Regions from separate parts of the Homo sapiens genome. Here region 2 is linked to region 1. Evidence: promoter capture Hi-C in human tissues and cell types (Jung and others, 2019). All regions are on one chromosome and are shown on one strand. Each heading gives the region's core, a stretch centred on a gene start or on the middle of the fragment in contact. The rest is flanking DNA. Distances are from core to core; before and after follow the strand shown.

Evidence for each region. The method cuts DNA at HindIII sites, captures the fragments that hold promoters and counts their contacts. A contact is called where the count stands out against the background at its distance.
Region 2: a contact is called between a fragment that was not itself captured here and the fragment with the promoter of RNF220 in region 1, in 3 of the 25 tissues and cell types used here (adrenal gland, hippocampus and neural progenitor cells).

The regions. Positions count from the first base shown.
Region 1 is chr1:44,402,158-44,407,864 of GRCh38, reverse strand. RNF220 (ring finger protein 220) reads right to left here and starts at 2,610. Exons shown (of 15, transcript NM_018150.4): 1 at 2,335-2,610. RefSeq lists an enhancer at 1,195-1,717. The HindIII fragment of the contact is 10,637 bases long and covers 1-4,452 here.
Region 2 is chr1:44,456,934-44,462,640 of GRCh38, reverse strand. The region is part of intron 2 of RNF220 (ring finger protein 220); the gene reads right to left. Among named protein-coding and RNA genes, the nearest start is that of RNF220, 55 kb to the right of the region's middle. The HindIII fragment of the contact is 4,153 bases long and covers 1-4,129 here.

The DNA of each region.
Region 1 (5,707 bases), core at 1,361-3,860:
CGAGCAGCCCCGCCCCGGGGGTCACCCGGGTCCCGCCGCCGCGCGCACCACCGCTTCAGCGGGCAGCCGCGGACTCCTCCACTCCCGCTTCTCCTGCAAATACGGACCGGCGCGGGGCTGCCGGGCCCTTCCAGCTCCTGGACTGCGGATGCGCAGTGCGGGAGGGAGGGTTCTGCGGCCCGCACCGCGGCCGTCCGGCCGCCGCACACCGCGCGGCTCGCAGAACAGGTGTGTGTCCCCGCTCGCTCCGCGCCCGGCCCCGGCCCTGTCGGCCACCAGCGGCGCGACGCGGCGCCGCCCCGTCCTCGGCCTTCCCCAGCCTTGCCTCGAAGCGCAGCAAGCGAACTCACGCCACTTTTGCCGGGTCTCTGCGGGCCAGGAGGGATCGGCACGGAAGACGCCAGCACCGCTCTTCCTCGACGCTCTTTCTGCCTTTCCCCCCTCTGCTCATTCCCCTTTGCAGGAAGAGCCCGCGAGACGGAAAGAGGAGGCCAGGCAAGGCAAAGCCCCCCTGCCCACTCTGCTCCCCCCAGTCCCCTCGCTGCTTCCTCACTGCCGCCCTTTTTTTTCTTTATTTTTCCTTTCTCTCCCCTTTGCCCCTCAAGCCGAGTCCGGAGCGGAGGCGAGAGGCAAGATGTGGCTGCTGGGCGTCGTGGGCAGCGAGTGCGGTGCTCTCCCCCTCGGCGGCTCCCGGGCCAGTGGGCCGGCGCAGACCCCAGACGACCCGGGCCGGCCAGGTAGGGCTGTGCCCCCACACCTATGGCCCGGGCCCCATGCACCCACCCAGTGCGACGCGCGCCTGGCTCAGGGCCGGAACACGGGCTCTCCGCTGGAGCTGCATCCACGACCCGAGAATGCAGGGTGTGCTTAACGGGAAGCGAGAGCTTTCCCCCTGCCTCCTGGCTGCCCTAGTCCCCGCTACTTCGGGACTCCTGCGCGCCCTCGCCAGCTGGGGTCGACCTGGGCCGCGAGCTCTCGGAGAGGCTCCTGGACTGGGGGATGAACCGGGCATCCCCTCGGATGGCCTCACCACCGTGGGCGGCCTCGCCCGGGGGGCCACACGGAAGCTCTCCGCCCAAGTTTGTTGTGCCCTGGAAGAAAAGGCTTTCTCTTACAAAGCACAAAGGCGAAACGCCCAGGCCGAGCCCTGAAAAGCCCCGGGTTGGGGGGCGGGGGTGGGGTGGGGGAGGCCGGAGGCTCCGGAGTGCGGTGGCGGGGCTGGGTTCCGGGCAGAGAAGGTCGCTCGGCCCGGGCTGACAAGCGCGGCGGCAGTGGCCGCAGGACCGCAGCGACCGGCGTGCTCACTGAAAAGTTTTGTTCTTAAGTCAGAAGAGAAATTGTTACTCAGTTTAAGGCAGGTCTAAGATAAAAATAAAACTACAAGTAGAGTAGTCAAGTAGCCCTCGTCTCCACGATCGTCCTCCCGCCTTGCTCAGTAGAACCGCTGGGAGAGGGGGTCCCGACCCCGAAAATCCCGGGAGATCCCACGTGTCGGGCTACTCTACGGCCAGGCCGGTCCAGCCCAGAGGAGTGGGGAGTTTACCGGTGGCGTTTAGAACGGTCCGCCTCTATGCTAGCACCTGCCTCCTTCCTGCCCGCAGAGGATCCATCCATCCTACCCCACCTCCCTCCCTCCACACCCTTCACACCCGCCCCCGCTAGGAAAAAGTCAGCCGAGCACCCGGGGTCCAGGGCTAAACAGCCACTCCCCGGGTATCCCGCGGAGCCGGCTGTGTGTGGGGTGGAGGCTGTCGGGGTAGTTTCTCATTCGGCTCGCCCCTTCTCCATCCGCCCGCCGCCTCGGGCTCCCCACTGAGTACCACCCAGCCCTGGCCTCGCCGGAAATCAACGCGGGGTACATAGGGGAGCCCGGAAATCACCGGGGGGTGCACCAGAGAGCCCGGCGAGAAGGCATTCTCGATATCGACCCGAACAAAGTGGGAATGGGGCTTATTAAGAGACGGAGAAAAGAAGTCCTGCTCCCTTCCCTTGCAGTGCCCTCACCCTCCCAACTTGTCCAATTCCCGCGTCTGGTCCCTCCCCCTTGCACCTCCCCCCCTCCCCAAATAAAACACATTAAGGAAAACTCAAGACGGAAAGTTTGAGCGAGGCAGCGCACGGAGCGCGCAGGGCGCCGATGCCGAGAGGCTCCGTCGCGATGATCCAAGACGCGCCAGTCCGAGTCCCAGTCCCTGCCCCCGTCCAGAGGGAACCGCCCGAATCCCTAGGAAACGGACCCGGAAAGTTAGCCAGGTTCCTGAACAAGCCGGCCGCCCTCGCACCCACCCCTCTTGGGTACGCACACACGTCCACACCCCTTTCTGATCTCCATACTTGCCGTGGAAATTCCTTGGGAGAACGGTCGCACTTTTCAGGACACGGAGGGAAGCAGGCGGAGAGTGTGGTGCATGAAAAGTCCCGGGTTCGCAGAGCCGGCGGAGGCAGCGGCGGCGGCGGCGGCGGCAGCGGCAGCAGCAGCAGCAGCAGTAGGCGGCTGGCCCCGGGTTTGTGTTCGCGAGCTGCCTGGGATTGCATGTACAGATCAAGAGACTCAGTTGGCGTGAGAGAAGGAGCAGTGCTGCCTCTCAGCGCTGGATCTAATCAGTGAATGAGCCTCCACTCTCCCAGGGACTCGGAGACACACACACGCGCGCACACACACACGCACGCACACATTCTCTCACACTCACACACATACAGGCACTCTGAGCACTGAATACATTAGGGCACTAAGGGACTCTGGGAAATGAAGTCCAGACCCAGGGCACTCCTGGAGAACAGACCTGCTGGCCCTCACCAAAGAGCTTGGAAGTCTTGGGGTCGCGAGCCATTGTGAACTAAAGAGAGCGTTGGCTTTTGTTTACATCCCTCCTCCCCCACCCGCAAAGGTCTCAGTGAATGGTTTCGTGCTTGTTGTTCTTCCTTTCCTGAACCAAAAGGGACCAAGAGTAAATGGGCAAAGCTTGAAGACTGACATCCACTGCTGCTTAAATGACCCCCAAATCCTGGGTCCCTCAAAATCTCTGTCTTTTCCCAGAAAAATCTTACCTGCTGCTTTGTTCCTGGAATGCTTCTCTGGGTCTTTGACTATAATAATAAATAATAAATGAATATTAATAAAACTGTAACTTTTGGAGGAGGTGAAGGCCTAGTATAGCATCCAGATGTGAGAATAAAATTTTTTATTGGTGTTTTATTGATGTTTATATTACAGTTCATTTCAGATCATTTCATATCATCCTATAATTCATCAAACACAAAGATAAACAGGGGAAATGGATAGAGAACTAACATTCCTGAGTGCTTTCTAGGAGCCCGGTTATGAGACTAAATGCCTTTACATAATTTCATTTACTCCTAAGATTAATTCTGGAGATAATAATATTACCACTAGTTTATAGAAGAGGAAACTGGGGTTGAAAGGGTTTTGTAATTTGCCCATGAAAACGTGGTTAACAAGTCTTGGATAGCAGGTAGTTCTAGTTCTGAAAGCAAAGTTCAACCAAAATCAAATCCTGGTTTAAGAAGTCATTCCTGGCCGGGCGCGGTGGCTCACGCCTGCAATGCCAACACTTTGGGAGGCCGAGGCGGGCGGAACAAGAGGTCAGGAGTTCAAGACCAGCCTGACAAACATGGTGAAACCCTGTCTCTACTAAAAATACAAAAAGTAGCCGGGCGTGGTGGCATGCGCCTGTAATCCCAGCTACTCAGGAGGCCAAGGCAGGAGAATCGCTTGAACCCGGGAGGCGGAAGTTGCAGTGAGCCGAGATCACACCATTGCACTCCAGCCTGGGTGACAAAAAAAAAAAAAAAAAAAAAAGTCATTCTTTTGTTTTGTAGTTAAGTGTCTAAAACCTCAGATTTCTCATCTGGAAAAAAAAAAGGGAGGGTGGGGAGAAATGGAGTACACACTGATAATCCACTTTACAGAGAACCACATAGGATTATAAATTGTCTAAAAAGAATGAGACTCAAAATCTCATTCTTGCTATTATTTCATTGTCCTTTTTACTTATGTTTAACATTAAGGTAGCATCTAAATATTAAGTATGTTTATGTATATGTGTGCTGTTGGTATTTTAAAATTTTAATTGGCAACTCTAAATAAATTGTTAATTTGATCACTTAGAGTTCTACATTTACAACTATTTCTATAATTCGTGATATCAGGATTATTTGTTGAGGAACTTTATTTTTATTTATTTATTTTTTTTGACATGGAATCTCACTCTCTCGCCCAGGCTGGAGTGCAGTGGTGTGATCTTGGCTTACTGCAACCTCCGCCCCGAGTTCAAGCGATTCTCCTACCTCAGCCTCCCAAGTAGCTGGGATTACAGGCATGCCCCTCCATGCCCAAATAATTTTTAGTAGAAATACGGTTTCACCATGTTGGCCAGGCTGGTCTCAAACTCCTGACCCCAAGTGATCCGCTTGTCTCGGTCTCCCAAAGTGCTGGGATTACAGGGGTGAGCCACCACGCCTGGCCTGTTGAGGAACTTCTAATCCATGTTTAATCATTCATTCATACACCAGCATTTATTATGTTAGGCTCTATTCTTTCCACTAAATTATTATTTCCTGCTGGATTGTAAACTTCATGAAGTCAAGAACCATGTTTGTTGCATTCTACATCATACCCTAAGCACCTTACAGCATCAGTCTCTTAGTTGAATGAATAAACGAGGATATAAAAATGAACTCCTGTCCTCAAAGAGCTCACCATCTAGTAGAGGAGACAAAGAAAGAGTTAGAAATCAATTTGATAACCACTGTAATAAGGATGACCTTAGAATTTATTGATCTAACTGAGACAAGTTTGATGATAAAAAAGGGACACTTTTAATAATTACACTGGGATGACAAATGTCAACAAGGGCCATCCTGGGCCAAGCAGATTGAATGGTCACCCTAGCTACATAAGGTATTTCATTCATTCATTTAACAAGCATTTATCGAGAACTCTCTTGCCTGGTGTGTTAAAGGAATTATAAGCCACTGATTTCCCTCAAAATTGAAATATGAAACATTGAGCAGCAAGAGATAGGCAGGAGAAGTGGGCCAAATCACAAAAGGCTTTGTATACTAAGCTAAGGAAAGTGGATGTTATCCTACAGATGATGAGAAACCCCTAGAGGGTTTTAGGGGTGTGACAGGGTAGGATTTCTGTTTTAAAACAAGCACTAGTTCCTGGGTGGACAAGGTGGAGGTTAGACAAGAGGCAGGGAGGCCAATCAAAAAGTCTATCTCAAGTAATTCAGTTGAGATGAAGTAGGGCCTGAACCAAGGTACTGGGGCAGAGTGAGTGGAGAGGAGGGGACACATTACAGTGAGATCTAAAAGGTAGAATCAACAGGATTTAGCCATTTTAGTATGGTGGATGAAGGCAGAAGGAAGACTCTATATAAATCCTAAATAAGATTTTATTATTTATAGCAAAAGATGTTGTCAGTACTTTAATGTTTATCAGTAGTAAAAGGCTCCCTCAGACTAACTTAGAGAGTTCCCGTAGATCCAGTGCACATTCTCACAGATAGATGATACAGATAAGAAGGCCTGTTCAATCATCAAGCCAAATATTTTTAGCTGTTACCACATGCAGTGGTCCTCACTACGATGCAAGTACTCAGAAACTAGAATTAATCACTGTCTATAACAGCAATCTAAACGAATAAATTAAATGCAAATCCCTCATAAAATCAGAGCAAAA
Region 2 (5,707 bases), core at 804-3,303, 55 kb before region 1:
TACCATTGTTGACCAAAATTTGTTTATAACTGATAGCTTAGAGAATTTCTTTCCACTTCAAAACCCCTTACTAGTACTGTTATATAAATGTCAAGGATTAATGTGAAATTTGGGGAAACCTCTATCAAGTTTCTTTCATATAGGAGTTGTAAGATTTCATGGCCTTTCAAATTTTCCTTAATATTCTCAGACTTTATTGATACTCTTTTACAGCTTATTATTGGTGTCCTGGTTATAGCGACATATTATGAGTTTTATGTTACCTTTGGTCAATATTTTGGAGATGTGTATATACTTCACATAAGAATGCACTCATTGTTAGTAGTATTGCTACAGACTTATACACTATAAACACAGGAATTTTAATAAATTCCATTTCATGTGATTCCCATTAAAAAATATATATATGTCCAGGCGTGGTGGCTCACACCTGTAATCCCAGCACTTTGGGAGGCCGAGGCGGGCGGATCACTTGAGCAGGAGTTTGAGATGAGCCTGGCCAACATGGTGATACCACATCTCTACTAAAAATACAAGAAAAAAAAATTAGCCGGGCATAGTGGTGTGCCCCTGTAATCCCAGCTACTTGGGAGGCTGAAGCAGGAGAATCGCTTGAATCTGGGAGATGGAGGTCACAGTGAGCCAAGATGGCACCACTGCACTCCAGCCTGGGCAACAGAGCAAGACTCTGGCTCAAAAAAAAAAAAAAAAAAAAACAAAGAAAAAAGAAAAGAAAAAAATATGATACATTTACAATTGTATACACTGCATTAAGATGTATTCCTGACAGATGCGAGGTTTCATTTTGACCAGCCATTAACAAGAACTAAAATTTTCACTTACAATTTTACATATGTGAGGACTAGTTTCTGGATCCATACATTTTAAGCTTTGTTTCTCTTCCATTGCAGAGCATCATAGGACACATTCATGTCCCCTGACAAGCTCTCATCATGCACCTTCATGGCCTGACCCAGTTAATTAGCATAGTAGGCAGTAGCAGTACTCCTGAGAGCCATTTATATACCAGGACAGGCAGGAGTAAGTTAACTCTACACAGAAGAGACCGCAAACCACATAAACAGATGCATCAACTAAATACAAAATATACTCAAATAAACTAAATATAAAATATACTCCCAACTCTGCTTTTCCTGAAACAGATCACCAAAACATCCACAGCCACTCCAACGCCGCTCCAGGAGGGGAAATATGAACTCAGACGGAAAACAAGAGTCTTAATTTTGATTAAAGTATTTTATTTTTGCAACATGAAAAAATGTAACCATGTAAAAATATCACTAAGGCCTCTTCCAGGGTCTTTAAAGGAGTTCATGCAAGTAAGGGACCTGTAAGTTTAAATTCATTAACTGCATAGAAAATCCACTTCTAGAAGGATAAAAATCCTGGTTTTACCTTTTTCTTGGTGTAGGCACCATCAATAGACAGCATTACCTGTTGCTGGGTATTTTTGCATTAAATATGCAATATTTATTGAGTACTGACTAGGCACCAGACTCTAGGGATACAATAGTGCTGAAATGAATACCGTCCCTGCCCCCGGGAGCTTAAGCTTTAGCTAAGAGAGAGACATCAATCAAAGAGTTATTTAGATGAATGTCCCAGGAAGGTTCCTTCTATGGGGCAGGTCTGTTACACCCAAACCAAACTAATTATTGAGATGTGCTGACAGGGAAGGGGGAAGGCCAGGAATGCAAGGAGTCCCTCAGCAGCGGCAGACCCCTCAGAAGGTCTCCTCTGACCTTGTGGTTCTCCTAGGGTTCAGAATCTGGCCACCGTGTTCCACACGTGTCCCAGTCTGCTCTGCAGCTATATTCAATCTATTCCTCTGGCACTTCAGGCTTAGAATTGCTAGCATGTGAGGCTGTACCAGCACGGCCTCTTTAGCTGGGGAACCCAGGACCCAAAGTCTAGCAGAGGAAACACTGGGCGCTTGTCTGGGGAAGCTAAAAGAGGATCCTGAAGTAAGAAGTGGTTAGTGCAGCTGACCTCCTCTCCCCTAACTAAAAACAGGGAAGTTTTGTGAGAACCCTCAATGAACCCTCAATGATCGAAGAACTCTCCGATCTCCCATTTTACCCTGTTTTTTCCTACCCTTCGCAGAATCAGCCTACTGACATATTTTTTATCTTATTTTTTCAGCCAAACATCTTGAAATAGTTACCTACACCCATTTCCTCCACTTCTCACTTCCAATTTCCTACTGCTCCACAGCAGTCTAGCTTCTGCCAGTGAAACTGCAGGTACCAGGTGTTAGAGGATGTCACTGCCCTACCAGTATCCCCTGCCCTTACTACTTCAGTGAACCCCAGGCTTCCAGGCGCTGGTACCTGCATTCATTCACCTGAGGGATTTCTCTCACAGCCGGGGTCTGTTCTGCTGCCCAAGCAGCAGGCTGGAAATGTCAGTGAATTAATGCCCTCTAAGAACAGCCCTCAACCAATGACCTGAAAGAGCTCCCTCACCCCGTGAGACGAGGAACGATGAGGTGGGTGTTCTGCACTGACTCCCTGAACTTTCCCGTTGGGATTAAGCTATAATTGCCCAGGGTGGCTGCTGGCTTAATTCACCCTTTACTGGCCGTCCCCTCCCTGTTCATCCCCCTCTCCCACACACACCAGTGTTCTTCATCTTTCAAATAGACTAATCCTCGTCTCAGGGTCCACTTTTAGGAAAACTCAAACTAAGCACCAAGATCATCAGTGACTTCCTGACTGTTTCGGTCTTGGTGAATCCATCAGTTAGCAAGTATGCATTGAGAACCTACTAGGTTCTAGGTATTGTCTAATCTGACCTCACCTCTTTAATACACTTGACATCCATAATCACTCCTTCCTGAAGCTCTCCTTCCTTGGATTCAGGCTTCCTTGCATGTGGATATTCCCTCTTTCATCGGCAGTTCCGCTCCACCTACCCCTTACACAGTGGTGTTCCCAGAGTTCTCAGTCCAGCTCTTGCTCTTCCCACTCTACATGCCTTTCTTTGGCCATGTGGTCCACCTGCACAGGATCAAATCTCACTTTTTTGTTCGAAGATCCCCAAATTCCTTTATCTACCCTTACTTCGTCTCCTGGGTTTCAGATTTTGTGTCTGACTACTTTTTGGACATTTTTACCTGGAAGCTACAAAGTTATCTCAAATGCAGTATACCAGTTTTGGGGGGTTTATTAGGGGGGGTTCTGTGTGAGGACAAGTGTGTAAGGAAATTGGGTAGAAGACATTGGCAAGACAGCATTTAAAAGTGGTGGATCATGAGATGTAGGCTCAGTAGGAAAGGAAGTAATTCTGGGAGAAGGCTGAGAGGTTGGGAAGAAATGGAAGCGTCAAAGGCAGTGCTGGATTACTCAATAGATAAACACATTCTTAGGGCATCCAAAAAGCAAAGTGAACCCCCACAACATATTTTTAGAAAAACCTTGAAATTAAAAAAAAACCCACCAAAAGAATCACCATGGTAAAAGTCAGAAATTTATTGAACTTCCTTACACTTATTTTACAAGTTAGAATTGTTTTCATTTTAAATTACATAAGGGAACATTCTCTTTTTTGGTGCTTTGGGACATTAAAGGTCTGGCTTGGATCTAGGCAGTCAATGAGATGAAAGCACAGTTATAACAGGAGCAAGGGAGAGAGGAAGCTGCAAGGTAGAGGCTGTCGTCCAAGAGTGGATGCTCTCTTAACCAGCCTCTTCCCTACTGACTTACTGGGTTAACTAAAACTTTCCATTCCAGCTGTAATATGTTCCAGTTAATGGACACAGTGCTCTGAATGCTCACGGCTGGCAGGCCACTCTTCCACACACATATACTACTTCCACTTTTACCAGCTGAGTGTAAGTCACTGTGATTGTTCCAAAATTTCTTTATTCCTGTGGTAGTAGTTATTACATTTACATAATTTAATTAAACATTATGTAAACCAATCGTGCGAAAAGAAAGAGAACTGTTGTTTCTAAGAACACTAAATCAGATACTTTGGGAAGTTTCATAAAGGTAAATCTCTTTTTTAAATGCTATTGAATTGGGTGTGGGTAAGACAACTAGAAAACAGTTAACATTTATTGAATGTTTACTATGTATCAGGCAGTATATTAAGGCTTTATATAAAATAGCCATTTCATCCTCACAATAACTCTCTGAAGTGGTTACTGAGGAAACTGAGGCACAAAAAGGCTAAGCAACTTACCCAAGTTAGGAAATGGTACATCCAGGATTTGAACCCAGGTGGTCTGGCTTGAGAGACTGTCCTAACCATTATGATATTAGTAAAAAAAAAAAAAAAAACTGGAAAAATCCTAACAATGGAGTCTGTGCAGAGGCTATTTCATAAGAATATTTAAGTTTCTTGTTATTTTTTTTTTTAAGAGACAGTGTCTCACTCTGCTGCTCAGGCTGGGAGTACGGTGGCATGATCATAGCTCACTGTAACGCCTGGGTTCAAGTGATCCTACCACCTCAGCCTCCTAAGTAGCTGCAACTACAGGTGCCTACACCATGCCCTGCTAATTTTTTTATTTTTTATTTTGTGTAGAGGGAGGGTCTTGCTATGTTGCCCAAGCTGGTCTCAAACTCCTAGGCTCAAGCAATCCTCCCACCTCAGCCTCCCAAAGCACTGGGATTACAGGCGTGAGCCATCACACCTGGCTTTCTTGTTCTATTGTAAAGAAGCCGAAGCCAAAATCCGTAGACAAGTCAATATGGATATGGTTGTTCAGGAATCAAGGACTCCACACTTGATAAAAGGCCCTGACACTCTACCCAAAGACTAGCAAGTGGTTGTGCATTTCTAAGTTAGAATGCAATGTTGAAAGTATATATGTAGTATATGTGGTACTTTTTATGATGTACCACTTTAACTGACTTTGATTAAGCAACCTAGTAGCAATGCTGAATGAGAAGGACTTCTCTGTTTCAGAACTTAAAATTTCAGACATGGAACAGCCCTAGATGAAGAATCAGCTATCTTCCTAAAACGCAGATCTAAATATAACGCTTCCTTGCTTAAATACTTTTAATTTCCACCATCTACCCCTACTCTCAACCAGAAAAAAAAAAAATCCAAGGTTATAAGTAGTATCCCGCCTACCTTTACCATCTTATTGTAAAGGAGCCAGTCCCTCTTGCCCGTCTTTCTAGTCATCTGCCAGTTACTTCATTCATGCTTCAGTATCTCTGTGTCATTTTCTTTGCCTGGAATTATCTTCACTCCCTCTCTAATTGGAGAAATCTTACTCATAATTTTTTTCATTCATTTTTTCATTCATTCAACAAATAGTTCTGGGCACCTATTGAGTGAAGAATGAACTAATATATTTCTATAATATATATAAAATGATGTTTCCCTATTGAAATGTTATGATAAGCTATTCTTTTCCTTTGAAGCATTTATCTCAATTTACTATTTTATATTTATTTGTGTGTTCATTTGTTTAGTGTTCAAGGGAAGGGGCAGAGAAGAGGAGGAAGAGGAGAGAGGAAGGTAGAGTGTTGGGAGGGTGTTGGGAGAGTATATATAGCTTGCAGGGAAGGGGAAACGGTTGGGAAAACTCTAAGGAATTAACATTGGAGCTACAGCTGAAGGATACGTGGGTGTAACTGGGCAAGACTGGCGGCAGTTGGGGATAGGTAGGAGCAGGAGGGGTTGGGGGGACGTGTGTTCCAGATCCAGGGAACAGCGGGTGCTAAGA